Linked DNA regions of Homo sapiens: region 2 is linked to region 1. The links are contacts of gene promoters, found by promoter capture Hi-C in human tissues and cell types (Jung and others, 2019). All regions are on one chromosome and are shown on one strand. Each heading gives the region's core, a stretch centred on a gene start or on the middle of the fragment in contact. The rest is flanking DNA. Distances are from core to core; before and after follow the strand shown. Region 1 holds the start of ELAVL1 (ELAV like RNA binding protein 1). Region 2 overlaps EVI5L (ecotropic viral integration site 5 like).

Region 1 (4,447 bases), core at 1,145-3,644:
GACGTGGTGGCGGCTGCCTGTAATCCCAGCTACTTGGGAGGCTGAGGTTGCAGTGAGCTGAGATGGCACAACTGCACTCCAGCCTGGGCAACAAGGGTGAAACTGTCTCAAAAAAAAAAAAAAAAAAAGAAAAAGAAAAAAAAAAAAAAAGAAATAGCACCATGGTCCGGGCGCGGTGGCTCACGCCTGTAATCCCAGCACTTTGGGAGGCCGAGGCGGGCGGATCACAAGGTCAGGAGATCGAGACCATCCTGGCTAACACGGTGAAACCCCGTCTCTACTAAAAGTACAAAAAATTAGTCGGGCGTGGTAGCCGGCGCCTGTAGTCCCAGCTACTCGGGAGGCTGAGGCAGAAGAATGGCGTGAACCCGGGAGGCGGAGCTTGCAGTGAGCCGAGATCGCACCACTGCACTCCAGCCTGGGCGGCAGAGTGAGACTCCGTCTCAAAAAAAAAAAAAAAAAAGAAATAGCACCATGATCTCAGACTCAACACATCCAGACTGAAACTCTGTCTGCTCAAAACCAATGCATCAACATAAACAGTATTATTTCCTTCCACATTTGAGACGTTCGTGTATCTCAACCTCTTTGTGGGCCTCGAAGTTGCAGAATTTGATAATAGATCCCAGCACAGAACTTTGCACACAGAAAATATTCGATGACAACTGGAGTGCCCTGGAGCCTTGTGATTATAGGAGCAGTACAATCGAGTGGTTAAGAGTAAGGGTTTTGAATCAGAGGGCCCGAGTTCAAACCCTGGCGCAGCCACTTTAGTGCATGAGACTGGTCACATCAAGTGACCCATCTAAGCCTCAGTTTCTTCATCTCTAAAATGGAAATTAATGGAAATTATAACATCACCTGCCTCAAGGACTGCAGACAAACGTCCACAAAGTGTCAAGCACATAGTAAATCCTCAATAAATACTGGTGGCTATGTACAACATCATTTATTCAGTGCCTACCAGGCACAGACCACGCACAACGCAACGGGATTTCCACCCTCTTCAATTTGCACCACACTTTTGTCCTTCCCATTTTATAGATAAGAAAACTAAGGCTCAACAGAGTCAAGCTTGTTCGAGGTCTTGGGAGCATCTCCCAGGGCATTAGAACTTTTGGAGGAAGAGCATTTAGTTCAGTAATGGTTCTCACCTGTGCGTGTGAGAGTGGAAGAGACCCCTCCCCCGCAACCCGAGCCATCTGGCAATGTTTGGAGATACTTTTGATCCTCACGACTTGGAGCATGGGGATACTGCTGGCATCTAGTGGGTAGAGGCCAGGAATACGGCTCAACTTCCTACATTGCACAGGGAAGCCCCCACTACCACCACAACCAAAAACTATCTGACCCCAAACATCAGTAGGGCCAACGTCGAGAAACCCTGCTCTAGACAGATCATTCTCCTCATCTTCCCATTTCTGGCCATCCGGATCTTAGATGAACACTTTCTAGCAAGGGGGCTCAGTCCCACCACGGGAAGCCCATGCAGAAGTTGTGCAGAAGTTCTTCTCCACCTGCCCTGCACACAGTAGGGACCAAAACCCATTTTAACAAGCCCCGCAGCCCAGAGCACCGGAAAAGGAAGGAAGGGCATCCATCCCCCATTGTTCAACTGTGTGCAGCTTGTGTTTCCAACAGGCACACACACATATTTTACAAATCCTAACGTCCCACGCCCCACAAACAGCTTTGTTAGAGATGGCGCTCAAAAAAAGATGCAGTTTAGATTTTTTTTTTCCCCCAGGACTCCCGTGTATCTACTGAAGGGTTTGCACACTTCTCAAAGGACCTCGCACCGGCCGCGGTGCTCTGACAACGACCACAAAAGAATCTGTGGGATTTCCCGGGGGAGCAAGCCCGTGGGCCGTGACCTCTGCGCGCTCAAAGCGTTCCCGGCGCTCCCCCGTAGCTGGCCCCACTCTCCCGCCCCCGGAGCCCGGGCTTCCAAGGCGACCGGGGCCCCCGGCCGTGCAGCCCGGCCCCCCGGCGCATGCCCACGCCGTATCCCCCTCGCCCGTCCCTCGAGGCGCCAGAGGAATCCGGCCCCGGGGCCTGTAGCCGGCGCCCACACCGGCCCGCCCCGACCCGCCCGCCGCGGCCCCAGCGCGCGTCCCCTCCCCCGGTCCGGCGCGGCCTGGGCCTCGGCCGGTGCAGGCCCGCGGGCGCCCCGCGGCCAGGCCAGGCGAGCTCAGGCCTGCCGCGGCCTACCCCGTCGGGCGCCGCCGAAGGCCCCCCACCGCCTCACCTGGATGCGGGCGGGCGGGCCCGGGGCTGCTCCGGGGCGGGCGGGAGGCGGCGGCGGCGCGGCGCTAACGGCTCCGCTCGGCCTCGGTAGCGGTGGCGGCGGTGGCGGCGACGGCGACGGCGGCAGCGGCTCCTCCTCAGCGCGCACGACCCGCTCCGGCCCGCGGCCCGGACACGCCCCCCCCGCGCGCGAGCCCATTGGCCGACGTCCGCCACGGCGCGCTGCTCATTGGCCGGCGTAGCTGTCGCGGCGCTCCGGGGCGCGCGGGAGAGGCGGGACTTCCGGTCGGCGCCGCCTGCGAAGTGCTCCGCGGCCGGCGGAGACGCGGGCAGCCAGCGATGGCCGCGGAGGGGGCGAACTGGGTTCCGGCCCTCGGAGGCTGACGGAAGGCGGTGGCTGAGGAGCGGCGCCTCTGGTTGAGCGCTCGCCGTGTGTCCCGCACCTGTCTGTCCTGCCGCCGCCCGGTAAGGTAGGAAAGGTCAGCGCGCCGGGGTTACGGGTACAGAACCTGGGTTCGAATCCCGGCCCCGACGTTTCCGCACTACGTGCCGTTGGGCAGGAGCTGACGTCACCTTGCCGGGCCTCAGTTTCCTTCTCTGGTGCGCTGAGGAGGCGGGGCATGGAACGTGGTCAGCGCTTCATCGGTGCTGGCTCTTTGAGCAAGCCAGTTCCCGAAGGCTCAGCATCTCATTCATTCATTAAAATGTCATTGAGCGCCTACTGTGTGTCAATCACTGTATGGGCAGTGAGCAGAAAAAAAATACCTGGTCTTATTGGGCTAACATTCTAAACCAGCGCTGGCCTAGAATGCCCTAGTAGAAATACATGCAAGCTACATGTTTAATTTTTTTTTATGTAAAGATGGGCTCTGGTTCTGTTGCCCAGGCTGGTCTCGAACTCCTGGACTCAAGCGATTCTCCTGCCTCCGCCTCCCAAAGAGCTGGGATTACAGGCATGCCTGCACTCTGCCTAATTTTTTCTTTTTTTTTTTTATGATCTGAAAATAATAGTCTTTTTATTTTTATTTATTTATTTATTTATTTGAGACGGAGACTCGCTCTGTCGCCAGGCTGGAGTGCAGTGGCGTGATCTCCGCTCACTGCAACCTCCGCTTCCCAGGTTCAAGCGATTCTCCTGCCTCAGCCTCCTAAGTAGTTGGGCCTACAGGCGCTGCGCCACCACAACCAGCTAATTTTTGTATTTTTAGTAGAGACGGGGTTTCACCGTGTTGGCCATGATGATCTGTATCTCTTGACCTCGTGATCTGCCCGCCTCAGCCTCCCAAAGTGCTGGGATTACAGGCTTGAGCCACTGCGCCTGGCCTACAATTTTGTTTTTCTTTTTTTTTTTTTTTTTTTGAGACAGGATCTCACTCTGTCACCCAATTTGGAGTGCGGTGGTATGATCACAGCTAACTGCAGCCTCAACTTCCCCAGCTCAGGCAATCAATCCTCCGGCTTCAGATTCCTGAGTAGCTTAGACTACAGGATGTGCCACTATGCCTGGCTAATGTTTTATTTTTTTGTAGCGATGAGGTCTTGCTGTATTGCCTAGGCTGGTCTCAAACTTCTAGACTTAAGTGATCCTCCTGCTTTGGCCTCCCAAAGTGTTGGGATTACAGGCGGGAGCCACGGTGCCCAGCCTGTTTCTTTTTTTAATCATATTTTCTTAGAAGTTTTTTTTTTTTTTTTTTTTTTTTTTGGAGACAGGGTCTCACTCTGCTGTGCAGGCTGGAATGCAGTGGTGTGATCTCAGCTCACTGCAACCTCTGCCTCCCTATTCAAGTGATTCTCGTGCCTCAGCCTCCCAAGTAGCTGGGATCACAGGCGTGCAACATCACACCCAGCTAATTCTTGTGGTTTTAGTAGAGATGGGGTTTTGCCATGTTGGCCAGGCTGGTCTCAAACTCCTGGCCTCAAGTGATCCACCCACCTCGGCCTCCCAAAGTGCTGGGATTACAGGCATGAGCCACCACCCGGCCTAGGAAAGCTTTTTAGAGATTGGGTCTCACTGTGTTGCCCAGGCTGGAGTGCAGTGGCTGTTCACAGGTGCAATCATCCCACAGGTTTAACTCCTGACCTCAAGCAGTCCTTCTGCCTCAGGCTCCCAAGTAGCTGGGATTATAGGCACGTGCCACCACACCTAGCTCAATTAAATGTTAAATTTAACATTTAATTGTTAAATTTTATAGTAGCCAGC
Region 2 (4,447 bases), core at 571-3,070, 150 kb before region 1:
CCCTAAGGGGACTGACCCCGGCAGTGGGTAAATGAGGGGTGCATGTAGACAGGCGTGGGGGGCGGGCTATGACGTGATCTCCCCCCACCCCCATAGAGACTTCGGACGGAGAACCGGCTCCTGAAACAGCGGATTGAAACCCTAGAGAAGGTGAGGGGCGTGGCCACTGTGAGGACATGGTCGCCATGGGGTGTGACCCACCATGCGGGGCATGGCCGCTAACCTGGGGTGGACTCCTCCAAGTCTTCTCCTCTCTGGAGGACTAAGCAGCCCTACCTTCCTGCCCCAGGACCCGACCTGAACCCGATTTGGAGTGCCCTGCAACTGGGGGCGACTCGTATGGTGATTAATCCTGGAGTGGGGGCGAGTTACAACCCAGTGGCCTGCAGCCACGGGAATCCATTTGTGTTCTGTGCCCTCCCCGGCTGCACAGACGGGGAGGGGTGAGGAGGAGGGAGAACTGCCACTTTGATGGACGAGCCCCGTAATTGGGCCACAAGCCACCCCACCCTGTAATTTGGAAGTCTTGCCCTCAAAAGAAAGGAAAGGAAACCCAGTGGAGGAGAAGCGTGGCGCCATGGTGGGGAGCCACAGCCCGGACTCTGCTCCCCAACATGCTAAAGATGGGGGTGGAATTGGGGGCTCACTGAGCCCCAGCCCCGGGAGCCCCCAATTCCTGCTCCTCACTCGTCCTCACTTGACCCTCCACTGGCCACAGGAAGTGGGTTGGCAGCCGGATTTGGTTGCCCTCACCCCAAAGCCTTGTTCTGCCTTAAAATTACAACGCACCCCCTCCTCTCCCACTCTCCAGGAGGTCCGCACGAAGCCAAAAGTCCCCCTGCCCCCCACAGTTTTTCCAGCCAGCAGCGGCCCGGCTGACCCTGGAGGGTGGGACAGTGGGTTTCCCAGCCCTGCGGCCTCCCCCACAGCCGCGGGCACCCCCGACCTCCCCGCTCACACCGAACCCCTCTCCAGGACGGAGCTGGCTCTAGCTTTGGTCTTCCTCCGGGTCCTCTCCTGCTGGTTCTCTGGTCTTCCCTCCTCTCTCCCCCGCTTCTAGAGATAGTCCACTGCGTTAGTGACAAGTGGTTCTTGTCTGTCTCCCCTCTCCTGTCCCCGCGCCTTCCGCTCTGCCTCCTCCCCCTGTCGCTGGGAACCCCCTTCGCCGGGTAGGAGAGCGCTGCTCTGGCTGATAGGTTAATCCAGGTACTGTAGCTTTTTATCCCCTCTCCGGATTCCTTCCTGGCCCCTTCCCTGCACCCTGCACATGACAGCCAGTAACCGCCTCTTCCCTGCCATTCTGCGGGCAGGCCTGGCGCCATGCATGGAGCAGCTGGGGACCGCTTCTGGGGGACACAGAGGCTTCCCGGGGGGGCGGGGCATGTGAAGTGGGGAGAAGGGTGTGTGTGGAGGGGCTGTGAGTGCGTTTGGGTGTGAATGTCCACATGCATGTACAGAAAGCTTCCTCCGGGCGACACAGGGTGGGGACCCAGGAGGGCTGGGGAACCTAAAACCATATTCACATAAGGCCCTGGTGTGTGCAGTGCTGCGGTCACACACACACACAACACATGCACACACACACACGCACACACACGCCCGGCCCTCACGCTGCTGCTCTCTGCTCCTACCTGCAATGCCTGCTACCACCTTCTCTAGCTCACCTGCTCCTGCTGCCACCTCATCTTGAATGGCTTTATCTGGAAGCTGCCACCCGCCACCTGGTGGCTTTGAGCCTGGAATGGGGGGCCCAAGTTGGGTAGGGGACAAAGATGAGGTGGGGGAAAAAAGGGGGTCTTAGCTCCAGGCAGGTGGAGGCCCCAGAGCCCAGGACTAGAGAAGATGCCGCTGGGAGAGGTGAATGCCCTGGGGAGCCCAGCCCTCTCCTGCCGGGGCCTCAGCTGTCCCCAGATCCTCACCCTCACCGGCAGAGTCTGGCATGAATAGGCACAGGTGGCCTCGCTGTGCCCCTGGATAAGGATCCCAACTGGGGCAGAGACTGAGAGCCAGAGTGGGGAAGGAGATGGAGCTTTCCAAGCCCAGGGCTAGCTCTGTTCCTCCCGGGCTCCTCCAGGTGTCCTATTCCTGCCTGTCACCCACCCACGTCCCCAGGCCCAGTGGGACGCTCATCCCAGGCTCTGAGTACGGGAGGCCCCCACCTCACTTCCCCCCACCTCCACTCTCTGGGCCTCCCCCTGTGGCGGGAGGCAGGGCCTTGGGTGGGAGCCGAGGGTCACGGCCTCCCCCTGCCCCCTGTCCTCGCTGTTCTCAGGGGCAAGTGACACGGGCGCAGGAGGCGGAGGAGAACTACGTCATCAAGCGGGAGCTGGCGGTGGTGCGGCAGCAGTGCAGCTCGGCGGCCGAGGACCTGCAGAAGGCACAGAGCACCATCCGGCAGCTACAGGAGCAGCAGGTAGGGGCGGGTGTGCGGGGCTGCTGGGCGGGGCCATGACCCGCGCCCCCGCCCCCGCCCAACGGTTTTCTTTCAGGGCTCATAATCTGCCCCGCCTCAGCACCTGGCCCTCCTGTTCCTTTCTGGGGTAAGGGGAACCCAGAGACAAGCGCAGATTCTCCCCCAGCAGCTCCACATTCTGAGACATCCTGATATCCATTTCTTGCCACCTCATAGTGTGTCTGCAGTATCTGACTTCCCAACCCCCAGCCTCAGCACGGAGGCCTCTGAAGACCGGGCTGTCCCTGCAGGGTTTCCTCTGTGTCACAGGCAGCAGACAGGGCTGTGACTCCTTACGGAGGCTCTTGCCTGTCCCCAGGGTCTGAAGGATTGTTAGGTGTCCCTGGGGGGCCAGCCATGGAGAATGGGAGCAGGGCAGTCCGGGACTGTTTGGGGAGCTCTGAGCCAGCAGGGTGGGGCTGAGGGGGCACCTTGAGTGTCTTGAGGGCCATGAACTTTGGGTCCCATGATGGGCAGGCCCATGAGTGGGGCCCCACCCCAAGATTTTCTTCTCCTGAAAGCTTTTAGAACTTAACTGCGACCTGGTGCAGTGGCTCACGCCTTAATCTCAGCACTTTGGGAGGCTGAGGCAGGTGGATCACCTGAGGTTAGGAGTTCGAGACCAGCCTGGCCAACATGATGAAGCCCCATCTCTAATAAAAATACAAAAATAAGCTGGGTATGGTGGTGCGCACCTGTAGTCCCAGCTACTCAGGAGGCTGAGGCAGGAGAATCACTTGAACCCGGGAGGTGGAGGTTGCAGTGAGCCAAGATGGCACCACCGCACTCCAGCCTGGGTGACAGAGCAAGACTCCATCTCAAAAAAAAAAAAAAAAAAAACTTAACTGCAGCTGCACTCAGCAGTTGGCCTTCCTGATCGCAGGGACCCCCAGTGGCTGCAGTCCTAAGCCCTGCAGGCCACAGGGACACATGCCCTGGAGGGGCCGGGAGCGACGCTGTAGGTCCCGCTGCCATCCTGGCCTGACCCAGCAGGGCCTGGCAGTGGGGTGTAGGTTGGAGAAACCATGGAGTGCTTGAGAAAGAAGAGCCATCCAATACAGAGGTGCCCCCTCCGCCCCCAGGCCCAGAGACTGTGGCTCAAGCCTTGGCCCAGGGATTCTAGCGGATCCACTGCTCCTGGGGAGAAGGAGAGCTTCACTGTTTCTCACTTGTCCCCATGAACCACATCCGTATGATGCTGGCGTTGTGGCCCTCAGAGTCTGTGAGCACTCTTGTCCCACCTTGCTCTGAGGCAGCATGGACATTAGGGAAACTGAGGCTGGGCTCATCCCACCCACTGCATGAGGCCGCCTTTCAGGCTCGTTAGAGAGACTCCACCAGCCACCCCTGAGCTCCAACCTTGGGGGGATGCAGAGATCGGGGAGGCCCAAGGCCACCTCCTCAGGCCCAAAGGGAGGCCACTGCAGGCAAGATGAGGTGGCCCAGAGGAGCCACATGGGGCCTGGAGGCCATCTGGGCCGAGGCAGAGCCACCGTCACACGTGGATCTCAGAGACCCACAGGAAGAGGATGGTGGCTGGGAGGGCTGAGGCAGTCCCCCAGAGAACTGTCCTGCCAGGCCACAAGGTCAGTGAGAGGGAGCCCGGCTCCCACCCCAGGGACCAGGTGTCCTTTTTCAGGTCCAGGTGGCAGTGTCCATCACTCCAGGGGCCCCCACTGGGGAACTTCTGAGAAGCCAGGGCATGGAGCAAGAGGGTGATACCCACAAACTCTTTCCTCATCCTTCCCTGATTTGAAATGGAGGGTGGGATGCAGAGGAGAGAGGTGGAAAGACAGGTGCACAGCCCCAGGCCTCTCCCCCACCCCCTGCCTCGCCCACCATGTGGCTGGAACGGTGACCACCCAGCAAGAACCCATCTCCCACCCTCACCAGTGATCCCGGAAAACCAGTCACTGGGGTCCCGCGGGGCATCCGAAGGCCAAGGCAAGTCACCTTTCAGAATGTCCCCTCTGTGCAGCCTTTCCAGGAAGGAAG

The links. The method cuts DNA at HindIII sites, captures the fragments that hold promoters and counts their contacts. A contact is called where the count stands out against the background at its distance.
Region 2: a contact is called between a fragment that was not itself captured here and the fragment with the promoter of ELAVL1 in region 1, in 1 of the 25 tissues and cell types used here (dorsolateral prefrontal cortex).

The regions. Positions count from the first base shown.
Region 1 is chr19:8,003,247-8,007,693 of GRCh38, forward strand. ELAVL1 (ELAV like RNA binding protein 1) reads right to left here and starts at 2,395. Exons shown (of 6, transcript NM_001419.3): 1 at 2,249-2,395. It overlaps LOC105372266 (a long non-coding RNA gene), which reads left to right and starts at 2,567. Exons shown (of 4, transcript XR_936302.2): 1 at 2,567-2,712. RefSeq lists silencers at 1,771-1,820, 1,851-2,050, 2,281-2,770. The HindIII fragment of the contact is 8,326 bases long and covers 1-4,447 here.
Region 2 is chr19:7,855,919-7,860,365 of GRCh38, forward strand. EVI5L (ecotropic viral integration site 5 like) reads left to right here. Exons shown (of 20, transcript NM_001159944.3): 11 at 97-150; 12 at 1,174-1,206; 13 at 2,273-2,413. Among named protein-coding and RNA genes, the nearest start is that of PRR36, 16 kb to the right of the region's middle. RefSeq lists an enhancer at 1,399-2,184. The HindIII fragment of the contact is 4,169 bases long and covers 1-3,905 here.